3 separate regions of the Homo sapiens genome follow, and regions 2 and 3 are each linked to region 1. Evidence: promoter capture Hi-C in 16 types of primary human blood cells and fetal thymus (Javierre and others, 2016). All regions are on one chromosome and are shown on one strand. Each heading gives the region's core, a stretch centred on a gene start or on the middle of the fragment in contact. The rest is flanking DNA. Distances are from core to core; before and after follow the strand shown.

The links. The method cuts DNA at HindIII sites, captures the fragments that hold promoters and counts their contacts. A CHiCAGO score of 5 or more calls a contact.
Region 2: a fragment that was not itself captured here is called in contact with the fragment with the promoter of SNX9-AS1 in region 1 in 1 of 17 cell types (activated CD4 T cells); the score reaches 5.9 in activated CD4 T cells.
Region 3: a fragment that was not itself captured here is called in contact with the fragment with the promoter of SNX9-AS1 in region 1 in 1 of 17 cell types (activated CD4 T cells); the score reaches 6.0 in activated CD4 T cells.

The regions. Positions count from the first base shown.
Region 1 is chr6:157,890,581-157,894,619 of GRCh38, forward strand. SNX9-AS1 (SNX9 antisense RNA 1) reads right to left here and starts at 2,302. Exons shown (of 2, transcript NR_183542.1): 1 at 2,113-2,302. All of the region lies in intron 4 of SNX9 (sorting nexin 9), which reads left to right. The HindIII fragment of the contact is 5,913 bases long and covers 1,399-4,039 here.
Region 2 is chr6:157,659,539-157,663,577 of GRCh38, forward strand. All of the region lies in intron 8 of ZDHHC14 (zDHHC palmitoyltransferase 14), which reads left to right. Among named protein-coding and RNA genes, the nearest start is that of MIR3692, 130 kb to the left of the region's middle. The HindIII fragment of the contact is 545 bases long and covers 1,472-2,016 here.
Region 3 is chr6:157,677,795-157,681,833 of GRCh38, forward strand. ZDHHC14 (zDHHC palmitoyltransferase 14) reads left to right here. Exons shown (of 9, transcript NM_024630.3): 9 at 1-363. Among named protein-coding and RNA genes, the nearest start is that of SNX9, 140 kb to the right of the region's middle. The HindIII fragment of the contact is 1,643 bases long and covers 1,187-2,829 here.

The DNA.
Region 1 (4,039 bases), core at 1,052-3,551:
ATAGATTTAAGCGTGTCCCAGAGACCCAACCAGACATGCTGTAGGAGTGTATTCATTCAACAGATACTTAATTTACAAAGCGTTTACCCAGGGCCCCACGTTCACGGGCAGCAGGAGATGGCAGGTTACCCTGATGGACACAGCCCTTCTCTGTGTCCTTCTAATGGAGCTCAGACGAGAGTGATTGTATATGTCGATTTTGTTTGTTGCATTTTCCAATGTTTGTTAAAATTTCAAGCATAGAAGAGTTAAACGAATTTCATAGTGAATAATCATATACCCACCTTCTAGATTTTACCATTCCCATTTTACTGCTCTTGCTTTCTCTCATATTTGCCCATTCCTCCATCTCCTGTGCCTGTCTGTATCATCCACTTTCAGAACTCAGACACTGTTATTTTAAGGGTACTCATAGTGTCACATGCTAAAAATTCTTTTTTCTTTCTCTTTTTTTTTTTTTTTTTTTTTTGAGACAGAGTCTCACTCTGTCACCCAGGCTGGAGTGTAGTGGTGTGAACTCGGCTCACTGCAACCTCCGCCTTCCAGGTTCAAGCGATTCTCCTGCTTCAGCCTCCCAAGTAGCTGGGATTATAGGCTCCTGCCACCACACCCGGCTTTTTGTATTTTTAATAGAGATGGGGTTTCACCATGTTGGCTAGGCTGGTCTCAAACTCCTGACCTCAAGTGATCCTCCTGCCTCAGCCTCCCAAAATGTTGGGATTACAAGTGTGAACCGCTGCGCCTGGCCAAAAATCATTTTTTCTGTAGTCACATGCTGAAAATCACTTATTCTGTGATCGACCACAACAAGTTAATTTTTTCAAAAAGACTCAATTTAGTCTTTTTATACATAAGGCAAAGTCTTAGTATACATAGTCTTAGTATACATAAGGCAAATCTGATTTCCTCCTTTTGGTGATCATGTCATGAAGGTTAGAGGTCTGACAAAGAGTAAGATATATTTCATACAAATGATCAAGAACATCACATTTAAAATATTTGAGTCCTTGCCACTTTATGCAAGGCATTTGGAGAATCTTTTGGGGGAAACATTCTCCGGGTAAGACAGAGCTGTCCCCGTGATTCACTGGTGGGACTGACCATCTGATTTGCAAATAATGAAGAAAGTGAAAGGAGGCGGCTGGATGTCAGCCAGCAGGCTGTGGGAAGGCCAGAGCCCTTCTGATGGGGTAGGGCTTTGCTAAATTGAGGAAGATGAGGTGTGCAGATAAGAGTACAGTATAGTGTGAGGAACAGCAGAGATGTAGAAAAGTTTGGGGAAATGTGTGAAGTTTGAAGCTTCAGAGTGAAGGTTAGTGGCAGGTAGGGAGAATGGGGAATGCAGCACGAGGCAAAGTTGAGACCTGTGCTGAAGAAACTCCTGATTGAGCCACAGGAAGCTTGGAGGTGACTCTAGGGGCAGTGAGTGCTAATGAAGGGATTTTAATTACCCATGATGGACAGTTAAGAGCTTTGCAAAATAAGGAGTGGGAAGAGAAAGAGGATGAAGATGCTGCTCAGTAGAAAGGAAGAGGAGGGAAAGGTGGAAGGAAAGGACAGAGAGGCGCCACAGGATGGAAACCTCAGCCCAGGAGCTGAATAGGTTTTACCGTGACGAGGTGTCTGTAGTTAGGGAACTACCAAGGGGATTTGGGAGTTGAGAGTGAAGAAGGCAGAGATCGACGTATGGGAAGGATGGGTTCAGAGAGAAAGCCAGTGATTGGTTACAGTTAAGAGGGGAAGGGACCTGCCAGGGCAGTAAAAGGCCATCTGCTGAGGGACTGAGTCCGAGGGCCGTGACGGAAGCTGCAGGAAAGATCTCCAGTTGGTAGGGTTTTGAGAAATGTGTTATCAGCAGGAGTTGGGTTGAAACAAGATAAAGAGAGCGTTCCAGGAAAAAAAAAAACAAAACCAAAGAGATAGAAACAAACATAACCACAAAGATTTCATAACTTAGGTGGAGAGCTAAGATCACATACATAACCAACTAGTATGACAGTTACTACACACCTACAAATTATTGACCAAGTGATTTTCAAAGAACAATTATTTGTTTTTGCCCTAATTAAATGGATTTTAATTTTTTGAGGACACTTGCTATGAATAGTTCACCTCCAGGTTTTTCCTCCATCTTGATGAAAATCCTTCCTGGCCAGTTTGCTAAGACTGAACTGTCTTCTGGAAGGCCCCAGCGAACATTCACTCTCCTGTTCTAGCTCACAGTCCTGTGTTCCTTTGTGATGTACCTCACTTAGCTTCTGGCAGTCTTCTGAATCCAGACCACTCACTTCTGAACTCTAGCCCGAGGTTACACAGCGGAAGAGAGGTAGAGCTGTTAACGGAATTCCAACTCACTAGGCTCTTGACTGTGGCCCTCCGAGCCCCTCCATTTCACAGCCGGTCCTTGATGGAAACCAGGCTGAGGCTGCTGTACCAATGATAGTCTGTCCCTAGTGTCCCAAACTTTGGTACTTTTTCAAGTTCTTATTTGAAAAAACTTGTAACTTAGAGTTTGGAGGACACGGAATATATTGCTAAATAGGAGAATAAAACTACATTTCCTTAAAGAAAACTGTAGAAGGAAGGGTTTCTCTTAGCTGAAGTGTGACTGCCAGGCCCTCAGCATGATTGCCTTCATTTCCAGCGTCCACTGGGGTCATCTGAGAGTCCATCCCGAAGCCGAATGTCACCTTGTAAAGCTGTGTGTTTGAGAAGTCACAGTCTTGTGGATGAAACATCTTTCTCCTGTTAGTATTTGACATAGAGTAAAATAACAAGTAACTTCAGTTTTTTCCTTAGAGGTATATAGGGCAGTAGAATGACATCATACTTGCACATCAAAAGCATGTAGTCTGTTTTTGATGCACCTGGCACGTGACAGCCAGCTGTCTGCCCCATGTGTCGGTTGGTGAAGAGTCAAAACAGACCAGCCACTAGGGTGTCTGTCCTACAACATTAGGGGCTATATTAGACAGGGTGGGTAATTTTCTTGCAATTATATTTTTTTCTTTTTTTAACTAGCACCATTTGTGTGTGTGTGTGTGTGTGTGTGTATAAGACTCAAATAAAGGGGAAGACTTGCTATTTCATGTTATGAAATAGATTCAGTACTGAAATATTGTGGAGTGAAAGGCATGAATAATTTTAATCAATTTTCTATGAATTCAGTAAACAGTGATTCAAATGAAAATCAGTATTTTAACTCAACATTCTAATGTGAAAGTTCAGATTGTTTTAGTTTAAATATTAAGCTGATGCTAAAGTTTATACATAAAAATAAACAGCTAAGAGATGTTATGCTAAAGTATTGATGGTTTTTCTATGAAAGTGTGGTACTAGTACAAATAGATCACTAAGAAACAAGAGAGTCCAGCTATAGACCCAAATCTGATATGTGATGAAGGCGGCATTTCAAATCATGGGGGAAAGATGGATTGTTCATGAAATGGTATTAGGGTGACCGACTGAGGACAAGATGTTCAGCTGGATCCCTGTATCATTTCTTTTTCTTTTCGCTTTTCTTTTCTTTTTTTTTTTTTTTTTTTTTGAGACAGAGTCTCTCTGTGTCGCCCAGTCTGGAGTGCAGTGGCGTGATCTCAGCTCATTGCAATCTCCGCCTCCTGGATTCAAGCAATTCTCCTGCCTCAGCCTCCCAAGTAGCTGGGATTACAGGCGCCCACCACTACACCTGACTAATTTTTGTATTTTTAGTAGAGATGGGGTTTCACCGTGTTGGCCAGGCTGATCTCAAACTCCTGACCTCAGGTGATCCTCCCGCCTCGGCCTCCGAAAGTGGTAGGATTATAGGCATGAGCCACTGTGCCCGGCCCCTATATTATTTGTTTTACTTAACTCAGTTCCAGACAGATACAAGATTTAAATGTTAAAAAAAAAAAAAAAAAAAAAGCTAACAAAAAACTGTATTTGCCTCAAGGGTGGGATGGTGGGGGCAGGGCTAATAGGTGCTAAGTGTACTCTCTACTGGAATATTCTTTGAGATTGGGTGCCATCTATTTCCCATTCCAAAAGTTTATTTGTA
Region 2 (4,039 bases), core at 494-2,993, 230 kb before region 1:
GCTTCAGCTGCTAATAACAGACATCCCAGGCAACAAAGACCATCACAGACTAAGCCAGCACATCATGACCAGCAGTGCCTGGCCGAAAGGGTCCCGAAGCCCTAACGGTTTTCCGGTCTCTGATGCAGTGATAGACATCCAGGGCACCCACCCTCTGCGCCTTGGAAAGCCTGCAGCACCGTCGCTAAGAGCAAGTGGTCTGGCAAGTTGCCAAGCAATCCGTCGTCTTCCTTTCTACTTATTTCCTGTTTTGGATATAGTTAGAGCTCAAAATCAATAAAAAAGTTCTTGCGTTCCAATCCCCAATTAGACAGATGGGAAAACAAATACACAAATCCGTTAGTGCTGAATTAGTCAGAATCGCAAGCTGAACTTCAAGCCATTCTAAGAACGGCACCAAGTTTATTTGCTCTAGAACCATGCTGTGGATAGGTGGGTCTCTGCTGAGGTTTAGCGCTTTAGAATGGACAGAGCGTTGCTAATATTGATACTATCATTGCAAGAGTTGCCTCACTTAATCCCCACAGCAACCTGCAAGATAGCCTCCTTTTACAAAGGATGAAACTGAGACTTGGATATGTTGAGTAACTCGCTCACAGTCACACAGCTAGAGATGCCAGGCCCATGTACTTTCTTACTTTCTTTTTTTCTTTTTTTTTTTTTTTTCTTTTTAGACGGAGTCTCACTCTTTTCGCCCAGGCTGGAGTGCAGTGGCACAGTCTCGGCTCACTGCAACCTCCACCTCCCGAGTTCAAGCGATTCTCCTGTCTCAGCCTCCCAAACAGCTGGGATTGCAGGTGTGCACCACCACGTCAGGCTAATTTTTGTATTTTTAGTAGAGATGGCATTTCACCATGTTGGCCAGGCTGGTCTCAAACTCCTGACCTCAGGAGATCCACCTGCCTTGGCCTTCCAAAGTGCTGGGATTACAGGCATGAACCACTGCGCCTGGCCCCGGATGGTTTCTATTACATGTCATATTTCCATCTGAAAAGCCCTCAAGCTGGAACCAGCTGACCCTCTTCAGACCTGGCCCTATGTCTAGGAGCTGAGGGATAATTTATTACAATCTGTCGCTCCTCAGCCCAGGACACTCATTAGAATCACAATACTGATCTCTGCATCCAGTTAAGTCAGAATCCTAGGGTGGGCAGCCAGGCCTTGGCAGTGCTATGGGCCTGGAGATGACTTTAATTGGCAGCCACTATTGAGAACCATCGACACAGCCTTCAAACTCTCTTGTTCTCTCCAAAAGTTTCGGTTAAATGGAATGATTTTGAGCCATTATTTGCTTTGGCACAAATAAGTTTCTTTTATCTTGAAAAACCTTAGGTCAGTTTCATTCAAGTAATACATGGTCTATTCAGAGAAATGGGTATATGGAGGATTTGAACGGAATGTGCTAGAATGTGACAGACTGTTGGGGGAGGGGCAGGGGAGCTTTGACAAAGAGCACTTAGGTTTCAGGCAAAGCTTCCTGGAGGAGACGACATCTGAGAATTCGCCACCCAAAGGTGGAAGGGATGTTTCAAGCCAACAAAGCACAGGCATGTGTGGGGCGAAACGTCCTGGTGTTTCAAGAGGGGGTGCAAGTTGGGGGAAGTTGACTTAGGCATGTGGAATGTGGGTGCCCATGGATACCTGGGGGTGGTGGGGAGCAGCCCAACAGGTAGCTGGATGGAACACTCAGGGAAGGTTTGCTTCCTGTGTTGTTGGAGAAATGGTCTGGTTGGTAGAAAGTCACTTGGAAACAGTGGAGACGTGAATCTGTTTTGTCAGCTAGCCTGTAAAAAACCTGTAAGACTTACTCATGTTTGTCATCTGAGATACTAATCCAATTTCATCTTACATGCTGGAAGATTATTTTTTGAAATCAGCATTCATTATATTTTCCTTTCTCTGTGCCCACCTCTGCCAGCTGTGTCCCCACCAATTCAAGGGAAGTTTCTTCTTGGTCTAATTGGACACCAGTAAGAACAACAGAATAAGATAATCCTGAAAGATGATGGAAGGAAAAGCTTTGCAAATAGCTTATGCAGTGGGGAGTGGCAGAGAACAGCTGTGGGGTCAGAGCACCTGGGCTGCCTCTGACCTTTGCTGGCCCTGACACTTTGGGGCTGGGTGATCTTGGGCAAGTCACTTAATCCCAAGAGCCTTAAATTCCTCAACTGTAAAATGAAGAAAGTTATACTGAGGTTCACCTCCCTGGCCTGTAGTGAGGATTGACTGAGATTCTATTTCCTCTTGCCATTACCAGTTTATGACCTAATAAACTGGAGGAGCTTTTTTTGTTTTATTTTTTTGAGACGGAGTCTCGCTGTGTCGCCCAGGCTGGAGTGCAGTGGTGCAATCTTAGCTCACTGCCACATCTGCCTCCTGGGCTCAAGCAATTCTCCTGCCTCAGCCTCCCAGGTAGCTGGACTGCAGGCATGCACCACCATGCCTGGCTAATTTTTGATAATCTTGGAAAAGCATAAGCCAGGACCCCAAATCAGAACTTTGTGCATGGAGTAATGGAAGAGTTATTGTCCCCAGACATGGCACACCAGATTGCAAATTAATAAAGACAGAGAATTATATTTATATAGAGCTTTGCAATTTACAGAGCACTGAGACATACATTTTCTAACTTACCCCTTTATTTTATTTTATTATTTTTTTGAGACAGAGTCTCACTCTGTCGCCCAGGCTGTAGTGCGGTAGCACGATCTCTGCTCACTGCACTCTTGACCTCCCGGGTTCAAGCGATTCTCCTGCCTCAGACCCCCACATGGCTGGGATTACAGGTGCGCGCCATCATGCCTGGCTAATTTTTGTATTTTTAGTACAGACAGGGTTTCACCATGTTGGTCAGGCTGGTCTTGACCTCCTGACCTCAAGTAATCCGCTCGCCCTGGCCTCCCAAAGTGCTGGGATTACAGGCGTGAGCCCCCGCGCCCAGCCTGGAGGTGGTTTTTAAACGTTCAGTTGAATGTATGTGCAAATTCCCCTCACAGGGGCTCGCACACAGGAGGCTCATAACAAATATTAATTTGTTCCAACTTCTTTTCCTCATTCCTTCCGTCCTCCAATTTTGCCACATCTCCAAAGACCTCCACCCTGGATGTAAAACTAGGAGCTAGAGGGAAGGAGTTCTCTTTGATGTAGTGACATGTCATGGTTCCTTGAAGTTATGGCCATGGTGGGATGAAATTAATCTGTGAACCCAGAGACAGATGTCATGGACATTCAAGCCATCAGACACTGTAGGCAAGTGCCTATGCACTTTTCCAGGAACTATAAAAAATTTTAAGACCTGGAAAAAAATTACAAGCTCTAAAACATGAAAAGAAAACTGCAAAATCAAAATTGATAAATGTGTAATGTCTATGAGACACATGAATGTGTTAACTTCATTAATTGTTAAATTTAGCACTCATGAAAATTTTATGACAGTTTAGAAATGATTTGTAGGTTGGGTTTTTCTTACTTCATCAGAATCCCCAAGCACACATATGATTACATGGAAATCATTACCAATTACAAAGTAAGTTGCTCATAGATGGATAAATTTAAAAGTCTAATTAGCTTGGAGTCCCATGCCCTCCCTACACTGCCTTTGCTGTGAGAAACCCAGGTTGCTTCTGGAAGAAGTCCTTTTGGTCTCAAGGCTTCTACCCCCCTGGGAGTGCCCCAAGCGCCATGAGAACATCGGCAGGAGAGGATGAGATGTGTTCTGTGTGGCCCCACAGGTCACATCTAGGACCAGAGAGTGGGCCTGGGATTCAGACTCTACTCAATCCAAGAGGGAACAGCCCAGGACGCAGAGCTCCTAGTGGACAGGAGTCCCCACCCAGAGATGTCAGACTTGGGACAGGGAGCATCTCCTAGCAATGCTGGACAGAGGACTTCAGCATTGGTGGCAAGGGCCGAACATCGACCTTCAGGGTCCTGCCCAGTGGAGGTCCCCTCCAGCAGACTCTTCTCTGTCATCAGGGCTTTGAGCCCATTGTGTCTCATCAACAGGCCAATATCACCAGCAGATAATGTTCCACTGGAC
Region 3 (4,039 bases), core at 758-3,257, 210 kb before region 1:
CAAGGAGACATGCTTTCTGGGTTCTATATGAATAGAGATGGTTTTAGCCTGCAATTAAAAAAAAAAAAAAAAACGGTTGAAGCCTTGCTAACTTTTTCCCAGAGCATTCTGGGTTGATATTTCACAGTCAAACGTTTTGGCATGGAAAAAAAAAAAAGCATTTTAAACTCTTAGTGAATTCAAAGCTCTAAATCCAAACAATGGTGAACACATGTACATAACATTTCATGTTTTCAGAGATACGTATGCTTATTTAAGTGCCTTTCATGTTTTAATCAATGTTTGCAGAATTTATCTTAAACCTGAGATGAATTAAAAAATTTTTCTCCTTCAATAAAAACTGCTAATGGCATAAAATGTAAATTTCAGCCTTTATAAGGTAGATATCGTCTTGGTCAACAAGATGTGTGGGGAAGGGAGGAATCGACTTGCACTCAGTGAATATGCACGTTGTGGACACCCATCTGTATAAGGATGAGGGTTTTCTGATCGTAGATACCCAGATTGCTTTCCTCAGACGTGGTTCTCAAGTTTCAATTCTACTTTAGAGCAATGCAGAAATTTAAAGTCCCTAATCCAGCATGTTCTATATGCCACCTTTTAACACATGCACACGTGCGTGGGCACACACACACCAGCCTCACCAGAGAGGAACTGTGCTTGGCTACTCATAACAAAATCCCCAAATCACAGCAGCTTAGGAAAAGAAATGTCTTTTCTGTATGCAAAACAAGTGCAGAGGTAAGGCAATCCCGGGACATTGTGGTGGCTCTGCAGTGTCATCAATGTCCTGGCTTCCTTCTCTCTGTTCTGCCATTCTTAGCACTGGCTCTCATCCTCAAGGTCACTTCATGGTCACAATACAGCTGCTACAGTGCCAGCCATCAAAGCCATATCCTTAGGTTTTCTATTAAGTACGTATGAGCTGTACATATGAGTCTAGCATATTCTTTTCCAAAAGAGAGAGACTTTCAAATGAATTTCTTTTCCTCCTGGTTCCCTCCACCTATTCTGGAGGTCTGTGTGGCATTGTAAGCTGAAAGAAGGAGAAACGGGGAGGAGCAAAATGGGTACAGACACTTATGACTGCTCCCTTTAAAGAGCATTCCCAGAAACCCCAATCTATGATTTTTCCATGATTGAAATTAAGTCACATAACCACTGCTGGCTAAAAAGGAGGGTGGGAAGCTTGGTGTTTTAGCTGGGCACATTCCTGCTCCAAATAATATTGGAGGTCTGTTGGTCAGGAAGAAGGGGAAAATGAGCATTCACTAGATAATCACAATAGAAAATTCCATCTCCTCCATTAGTGCAAGAGTGACACCCTCCAGCTAGAGCTCTGTCATCCTTCTCTTCCCCACTAAAAAGTTCTGCCTCATCCATCTACTGTTCTCTCCCTTTAGAGAGCATTCCTACCTGCTAAAGTAGGCTTGACCCCATCTCCTGCATGACCCAGGACCCAGCCCCTTCTCTCCTCCGTGACCCAGGACCCAGCCCCTTCTCTCCTCCATGACACGGGACCCAGCCCCTTCTCTCCTCCATGACACGGGACCCAGCCCCTTCTCTCCTCCATGACCCTGGGATTCAGCCTCTTCTCTACTCCATGACCCCGGGACCCAGCCCCTTCTCTCCTCCATGACCCAGGACCCAGACCCTTCTCTCCTCCATGACCCAGGACCCACCCCCTTCTCTCCTCTATGACCCAGAACTCAGCTCCTTCTCTCCTCCATGACCCAGGACCCAGTTCTTTTATGATCTCTTGCATCTTCAGTTTCTTCCCACCAGTTGTTTCCGTAGGCCACCATACCATACTGCTACTTTGAAAACAACAAAAAAAACTCATCTTCCTTGTCTCTCTATTCATCTTTAAGTGCTCATTCCTCTCATTGGCTTGTCTCTCTGTTCATCTTCAAGCACTCGTTCCTCTCATTGGCTTGTCTCTCTGTTCATCTTCAAGCACTCATTCCTCTCATTGGCTTGTCTCTCTGTTCATCTTTAAGCACTCATTCCTCTCATTGGCTTGTCTCTCTGTTCATCTTTAAGCGCTCATTCTTCTCATTGCCAAATGTCTCAAGAGTGGCTTGCCCTCCGGTCTTCCATTTCCTCACTTCCCACTCTCTGTCAGCTTCCCTTCACTGCATGCTTCTGAAATGCACTCTCCATGATCTCCAGTGGCAAATCCTGTGGCCTGGCTGCATTCTCTTTAACATCCCTGAAGCATCTGACATGGTTGAGCACCCCATGCCCCTGGATCCGTGCAGCTGGCTGTATTGCAGGAGGCAGACAAGCATGCAGTTGGGCATCTCTAATGCTTGTGGGCAATGCTCTCTCCCTTTGGCCTCAGTGACACTGCTGTCTTTATTCCAGCTGACATCTGCTTGCAATCTGCTTCCTTCTCACATCCCACAAATGAGGACACATGGCAAGGCTCGTTTCCCTGCCCTTTGGCCTTTGCTGTCTCCTCTATTCCCCTGCAGAGACTTCACCACTCCAGTGCCTTCTACTCCTGCCTCTTCTGTGGACTCAACTCTCCAGCACCCATCACCCTCCCAAGGATTAGCCCCACAGCTGAACCAGCTGCTTGCTAGACAAAAGGAGATTTAGCCAGGAATCTGACTCCAGCTTGCCTGCAGCTAGTTCTGTAACCTCAGGCAGGTCACAGAGCCCATGGGCCTTACTTTCCTTGGCCACAAATGCGACCGCTTCTGGGCTCGCTGTGGTATGCTTGGCTCCATGTTCCCACTTACATATCCCATCACTGCCCCAAACCCAAATGCTTGAGATTGGATTCAACATCTTTCTTCCCAAACAGGCCTTTATTTTAGTTGAAGCTTCCCCAGGAGAGCCCCAAGCTTACAACTCTGGAGAGGCCTTTGATTTCCTTACTCTGTAGATCCAATCGGGCCTCAAGCCCTGTCACTCTTCCTCTACAGGATCCACAAAATCTTTCCTTCTTCTTCACTTTATCGCCACCTTCACCATCTAACCCAAAATGTTAGGATTGCTGCGAAGAGCTCTCCTCCTGCCAAATGTTCCTGTTCCTGCCCATCCCGTACAACCCAGGCACGTGTCTTCCCAGCCATCGCCAGGCCCATGTCAGATCCCAGGTGTCAGATCATCCACAGCTTTTTCTTCCCCATGTGCCCCTCAGACCAGCATCTAAAGCTTCCATAATCTGGCCCCAAATGGTTTCCATTCTTCTTTTCCCTTCTCCCTGTCTCCCTCTCTGGCAATTCAGCCTCCTCCCTCCCTGGCAGAACCCACCAGGCGCTTCCCACCCTCCGCGTCTCCCTCTGCCCCTCTCTGCCTCTCTCCGCTTGTCTAAGTCCTTCCTGCCTCCCCATTACTAACACGTTTCATAGGCGTTGAGGGCCCCCTTTCCTCTGAATTCCTCAAATACTTGCTCCGTCACATATTTCTTCAAAATTGAGATATAATTCACATACCATGAGATTAGCCCTTTAAAAATGTACAATTCCGTGTTTTTAGTATAGTCGCAAGGTTGTGCAGACATCACCACTAACCCAGAACATTTCCCTCACACATTTCATCCTTTTTCTAGACCACCTACTGTAGTTTCTGTCTTCATGTGAATGTCCTGTCTCCCAGTAACGCCTGAAAGCACCGTGATGGCTCCAGGGTTTTTGCTGTGGCACAGTGCCAGGCAGGCTTCTGCACCACCGGGGATCGTCAGTGCTCGAGAAGGGGGAGGAAGAGGCGATGAGGGTAACAGAAACAGCCTCTAAGGCATTGAGGACCCAAACTCCGCCAGGGACCTCAGGGGGAGGTGGAGGTGACGAGGGTAACAGAGACAACGTCTAAGGCATTGAGGACCCAAACTCCCCCAGGGACCTCATGCTGACACCTGAGGGCCTCAGAGAAAAGCCCCCCTCCCTTATACTCCCCTCTATGTCCAACTGTGAGGGAAGGCTGCTGCTGTGACGTGAGTCCCTGTGTGGAGTTCAGCTGAGCCAGGAGCCAGTGCTACCCGGTGCTATGAGACCTCCTCACTCACCTTTGCAAGCCATCTGACACTCCC